Linked DNA regions of Homo sapiens: region 2 is linked to region 1. The links are contacts of gene promoters, found by promoter capture Hi-C in blood cells and fetal thymus (Javierre and others, 2016). All regions are on one chromosome and are shown on one strand. The core of a region is centred on a gene start or on the middle of the fragment in contact, and the rest is flanking DNA. Distances in the headings are between cores, read along the strand shown.

Region 1 (3,232 bases), core at 53-2,552:
TCGTGTTCTGCAGTGCAAAGGGACTTCCCATGGCAACAACAAACTCCCCTTGCCGGACATCAGCTGAGCGTCCCAGAGGCAGCGTGGGGAGAGGCTCCTAAGGGAGAATGGGTAAAAGAGACCTGTCATCTGAAGATGCGAGCAAATAAGCAGCTCCAACCAGACCTGGCCTACCCCAGCCCCCACCTTAGTCTGAATCCTCAGCGTTGCGATGTCTGCCACGGGATCCACAGCTGTGACCACGGCCTCATACGTGTCGCCGCTTAGCAGTCTCACACGGACTCTGCGCCGATCAGCCACCACATGGGCGTTGGTGACAATGAGCCCATCGGCAGCCACCACGAATCCTGAGCCGTTCGAGATAGGGACCTCGCGGCCCAAGAAAGGGTGCCTGAAATGGAGGGAAAGCACAGATAAGAGGAGGCTCTGACCCCTCCTACCCGCCCGCCCTCCAGCCTGTGGCTTCAGTGCCTCCCGGTCTACCCCCACCATTACCGGTCCAGGATCTCGATATAGACCACGGCAGGTGCTGTCTTCTCCACCACATCTGCGATGAAGTTGTACTGACTCCGGGGAGAAGCGGGCGGCGGGCTAGGGACGGCGGCGAGGACGGCCGGAGGACCCCGACCCCCGCCCCACAACAACAACAGCACTGCCCCCCCAGCGCCCAGCGCCACCGCCAGCCACGCGCGCGAACGGGTTCCAGAGTTCTCTGAGGCCTCCCGGGTCCTGGTATCTGGGGTCACCGCAGTCAGTTGTGCCCGGGGACCCGGGGTCCCAGACGTCAGGCATGCTCGGGGTTCAGTGACCCCAACAGACAACCGGGCCCAGAGACTGGGGGTCCCATAAGTCACTCGGGCCCGGGGGTCAGAAGTTCCTGACGTCAGCAGGGCCCGGAGGTCAGGGGTCAAACGGGGTCTCCTCCCCCAGCGAATGCCCCCCAAAGCCCGCCATGCCCGAAGGCTCCAGCCTGCACCCCGCCCCGCCCTCGGCGCAGCCATCAGCTCCGCCTTGGCTGCCTCCTCGCCCGCCCTACTCAGAGGCGGCACCCAGGACGCGAGCAGGCGGACAGTAGGACGCGGGGCACGCCGGTACCTGAAGTCCTTCAGAAGTGCACGCCGGGACCAGGATTCCGGGAGGCCGACTCCTCCCTGCCCCACGAATGCCGGGAATTGTGGTCTCCGCCGGACGCGAGTTGTGAGACGGCCCAAGGGGCCGCGGGGTATGCTGGGACCGCTAGCCCTTCCGGCGCGCCTCAGGACTTCGGGTCCCCTCACCCCGGGCGGATGCCCAAAGACTCCGCCTTCCCAAGAGCCCCTGCGGCCGGGCGCGAAAATGGCGGCGGCGGCGACGGCCGGGCGCTCCTGAAGCAGCAGTTATGGAGCTTCCCTCAGGGCCGGGGCCGGAGCGGCTCTTTGACTCGCACCGGTAAGAGACCCGGCGGGAAGAGACCGATCCCCGCGTGCTCTCGGCCTTCGGCGCCTGACCACTTCGCCTCTCGCCCCCAGGCTTCCGGGTGACTGCTTCCTACTGCTCGTGCTGCTGCTCTACGCGCCAGTCGGGTTCTGCCTCCTCGTCCTGCGCCTCTTTCTCGGGATCCACGTCTTCCTGGTCAGCTGCGCGCTGCCAGACAGCGTCCTTCGCAGGTTCCGACGCGGGCGTTCGGGGAGTGTCAGAGCTGGGTCTGGCCCGAGGCCACACAGTCACCACCTCCTGTGTCCCCAGATTCGTAGTGCGGACCATGTGTGCGGTGCTAGGGCTCGTGGCCCGGCAGGAGGACTCCGGACTCCGGGATCACAGTGTCAGGGTCCTCATTTCCAACCATGTGACACCTTTCGACCACAACATAGTCAATTTGCTTACCACCTGTAGCACCGTGAGTGAGAGCGAGGCCGAGAGCGCCACGGGGCGGTTCCCTGGGGCCCAGCTGAAGGCCCCCCTGTCCCCACTCGCGTTCCCCATGGAGGATACTGAGCCTTACCCCTAACCCCGATCCTCTACCCAACATGTCAGTTTTTTTTTTCATTTTCCTCAATATTTTTCTTCTTGCTTTCTCTTCTCCTGGTTCCCAGCCTCTACTCAATAGTCCCCCCAGCTTTGTGTGCTGGTCTCGGGGCTTCATGGAGATGAATGGGCGGGGGGAGTTGGTGGAGTCACTCAAGAGATTCTGTGCTTCCACGAGGCTTCCCCCCACTCCTCTGCTGCTATTCCCTGAGGAAGAGGCCACCAATGGCCGGGAGGGGCTCCTGCGCTTCAGGTGGGTTTAGCACAGGTATGGGGCGCCAGCTGGGTAGGTGGTCAAGCTTGTGGGCCCTTGAGTTTTTACAACTTTCTTCGGCCCTTAGACCCCATCATCTCCAGTTCATTTCCTTTCTGTCCACTTTAAGTTCTTTCTCCTGAATCCCTTCATTCTTCAATTATGTGCTTGTAGAGTTTGACAGTTGCCTGTTATAAGGCAGGTGTGAGCTGCTGACTAGGCTGGCTGGATTCCCATCCTACTTTCTCCTTCCTCTTCTAGTTCCTGGCCATTTTCTATCCAAGATGTGGTACAACCTCTTACCCTGCAAGTTCAGAGACCCCTGGTCTCTGTGGTGAGTGTGTGTTGAACAGGGAATCTCTGGGGCTTGAAGGGGAAATTTCCCATCCCTGGCCCTGGCTTAGGCCTCATCTCATGCCCTCCCCTCAGACGGTGTCAGATGCCTCCTGGGTCTCAGAACTGCTGTGGTCACTTTTCGTCCCTTTCACGGTGTATCAAGTAAGGTATTAACTGTCCTCACATTTTGGTCGCTGGGGAGAGGCTCACCTCAAGGTCAAGGAATTAGTGGCCTCTGCCCTGTCCATTTGTAGATCTTTATATCAAGGTTCTACCACAGAGGCAACACAAAGTATTTACAGTATTTACTATTTTCCCACCCACCATGCAAAGAGGTACCAAAGTGGGGAATGGTGACAGCCTCTACCCTGGGTGCCCACAACATAGCCCTGGATTGTTTCTTTGCAGGTGGCTTCGTCCTGTTCATCGCCAACTAGGGGAAGCGAATGAGGAGTTTGCACTCCGTGTACAACAGGTGGTCGGGTGCACAGACAGGGTGGAGGCGGGGTCCCTGCTTAGGAGGAGAGGGAGGAAAGCTTGAGATCTTGACACTTCCAGTCTTCCAATTCTCCCTAGCTGGTGGCCAAGGAATTGGGCCAGACAGGGACACGGCTCACTCCAGCTGACAAAGCAGAGCAC
Region 2 (2,951 bases), core at 292-2,791, 550 kb after region 1:
AATGACAACAACTAATATTGTTTAATCCATATGACAACCTTGTGAGGTAGGTACTATCATCAAACCCATTTTATGGATAAGAAAACAGATTAAATAACTTGCCCAGGATCACTCAGCTAGTAAGTTGTGGACTTTCAGAGGAGCCCAGCAGCCATCCTCTTGTATTCTGTCTGGGTAAATGGCACCAGCAAGTTACTGTGTCATTTACTCTTTGCCAGCAATCTATGAGAGGGTCATTTCATAAAGCCCTCTCGTTTAGGTAACTGGGTGAATGCTGGTGCCATTCACTGTGACAAAATGCAGAAGGAAGGATGCCTGGGGATGGAGACATTCGTGTGAAAGTGAGTGTGCAACTGAGGGGGTGAGGCCTGGGTTTGAGATTTGGGCCCCATCAGTGAGCAGACAGCGAGGCCTCAGTTGTGGAGGAGCTCATCCAGGGTGGATATGGAGTGTGAGAGGGAAAGGCTGCCAGGACAGAGCCCCAGGGAATACCAGCCCATGAGGGACAGGAGCTGAGAAGGCGCCGCCAGAGAGGTTGGAGGGAACCCAGCCAGGCTAGAGAGCTGCCTGTCATATCTTCCCGGCCTCTGGAACCTTACACTTCGGCAGTCCTGTTGCTCATTCCTTCTGCCTGGGGAAAAACCCTTCCCACCCCACCCCTTCTCAGCTACCCCTTGTACCTGCCAAATTCCCACTCATCCTGCAAGTCATAAGTGCCAGTTCCATGAAACCTCCAGCTGCTCAGATGATTCCAGAGCCCCACCCACTCTCCCTCCACAGAAGTTTGACTCTCCCTGCCTAGGAACAGTTATCTCATCGGCGCTGGGCACTGGAATGGTTTGCATGTTTCTTTCCCAGTTACTACAAACTCCTGGAAGGGTAGCACGCTGTCTTTCACCTCATAACCCTAGACCTAGCAACCAACCACTGTGTTGAATGAAGAGACGAGGTGAGTAGACCCTAATGAATGACAGACCCCAGTAACACTGAAGACCCATAGGCTTCTTTCCTGCTTTCTTTACGACTTGCACAAACTGGTCAGGGGCGCCCAAGATAAAACAGCCTAAACTCCTCAGGTCCTGCCTTCTGGTTCTCCAGCCTCCTGGGCTGCTGCGGCTATTCCCATTCACATTGCGCTCAGGGCAGGAGAGCAGCGGGGGTGGGCGTAGGGATAGGGCGAGCCCTTCCTGGGGCTGCATTAGCCTAGACGCAGTGGTTCCGCCAAGAGAGCCCCGGCACCAGCAGCATCACCATCTCCTGGGAACTGGCTAGAAATGCAAGCTCTCGGCCCCATCCTAACCCCACTGAATCAGAAACCCTGGGGGCGGGCCCAGCAATCTGTTTTAATTAGTCCGTCAGGTGAAGTCAAGTTAGAGCAGCACTGGACTACAGCAAGCGGGGGAGAAGGAAGTTCAGCACCCAGGTGGAGACTGCGATTAGGCCCCCAAGGCGCTTAGAGCAGACAGAGGGAGAGAGGCTCCTTTTAGGAGCGGGTTTGGCGGGCGCCACCCCAAGCGGCCAAGGGCGGAGCCTCTTTTAGGCGACTGCTCCCGCGAGGTCAGAGCCGGGCTGTGCCGCTGCCCCCGGGACTAGAAAGGGAAATCTCCTTGCTAGAGGAGGAAGCCCTAAGAACTCAAGGGAGATAGGGGTGGCAGGGGCATTTCCCTGGATGCCTGGAGCATGGAGGGTGCGAAATAAGGAGGCTTTCCTACCCCATTGATGAGCTGAAGTTGATTCCGCACGGGGGAGGAAAGGGACAGGAAGCATAATTGGATGTGCAAGCCTGTGGTTCTTCAGGAAGTTAACACGTGGAACTAACACTGTTGGATGCTGCTGAACTCTCAGGTGATTGATGTGACTAACCTCCTCAGGTACTTGACCTCTCTCCTCTTCAGCTAATGAGTAATTTGTCCTTATTTAAGAATGAGATTTGCGTATGGGGACCTTTTGCAGAAATGTAAATACATCCCGATATCCATACCTGGGCTTGGTTTTAAAGACTGAAGGTATTGGGAGGTTTATTTGATTTTGGATGTATTACTTCTTTGGTCATGTATTGGCTAAAAATATTATCAACTAATATTTGCATAGATCTTTCCCTTTTCAAAGCACTTCCACACACATTATCCTTCTGTCTGCACAGAGTGGCAAATACAACAAATGTGCAAATGTTAACTTTCCTTATCTATGACATAGTTTTTATTATCATCACCATTTTACAGATAAGAGAACTGGCGCTCAGTGAGGTAATTTGTCCAAGGTCATTCACTACTACATGTCAGAATCCAGGACCTACAATCCAGGACCTCTGAAATTAGCCCACGAATGCTAGAGCTGATACCAGGCAGAAGCTGGCATTTTGCTCTCAGGGAAAGGGAGGTTCATTAGTGGGTTGCTTGTGGACCTGCATTGGTGAGTGTGACACGTGTAGGATATCTATGCTATGCGTTTTTGGGTTTTTTGTTTTGTTTTGGTTTTGGGTTTTGGTTTTTTTTTTTTCTTTGAGATGGAGTCTCACTCTTGTCACCCAGGCTGAAGTGCAGTGGCGCGATCTGGGCTCACTGTAACCTCTGCTGCCCAGGTTCAAATGATTCTCCTGCCTCAGACTCTCGAGTAGCTGGGATTACAGGCACCTGCCACCGCGCCCAGCTAATTTTTGTAGTTTTAGTAGAGACTGGTCTTGAACTCCTGACCTCATGATCCACCCACCTCGACCTCCCAAACTGCTGGGATTACATGAGTGAGCCACCGCGCCCGGCTACTACGTTTTTCAATAGCCCCGCAAATGTCCTCATGTTTTATAACTAGTTTTGTGACTGCATTTTGAATTTTTTGAATCAAATAGGCTTCATTACTTGCAAGGAGAATGCAAGGGTACCCATCATAATGGAAGGAATACCCAACAGGGATAAAGGCCTTGGTGCCCCTGAGCCTTGGTTGACAGGGTGTAT

Evidence for each region. The method cuts DNA at HindIII sites, captures the fragments that hold promoters and counts their contacts. A CHiCAGO score of 5 or more calls a contact.
Region 2: the fragment with the promoter of DGUOK-AS1 here is called in contact with the fragment with the promoter of AUP1 in region 1 in 1 of 17 cell types (fetal thymus); the score reaches 7.2 in fetal thymus.

The regions. Positions count from the first base shown.
Region 1 is chr2:74,527,776-74,531,007 of GRCh38, reverse strand. AUP1 (AUP1 lipid droplet regulating VLDL assembly factor) reads left to right here and starts at 1,302. Exons shown (of 12, transcript NM_181575.5): 1 at 1,302-1,428; 2 at 1,509-1,646; 3 at 1,726-1,876; 4 at 2,073-2,257; 5 at 2,519-2,591; 6 at 2,687-2,760; 7 at 3,002-3,068; 8 at 3,170-3,232. The coding sequence starts at 1,379. It overlaps HTRA2 (HtrA serine peptidase 2), which reads right to left and starts at 1,075. Exons shown (of 8, transcript NM_013247.5): 1 at 496-1,075; 2 at 187-391; 3 at 1-97. The coding sequence starts at 1,001. RefSeq lists enhancers at 1-178, 189-268, 299-368, 389-518, 974-1,856 and 1 more and a silencer at 909-998. The HindIII fragment of the contact is 3,652 bases long and covers 1-2,305 here.
Region 2 is chr2:73,980,029-73,982,979 of GRCh38, reverse strand. DGUOK-AS1 (DGUOK antisense RNA 1) reads left to right here and starts at 1,541. Exons shown (of 2, transcript NR_104030.1): 1 at 1,541-1,845. The HindIII fragment of the contact is 8,489 bases long and covers 1-2,951 here.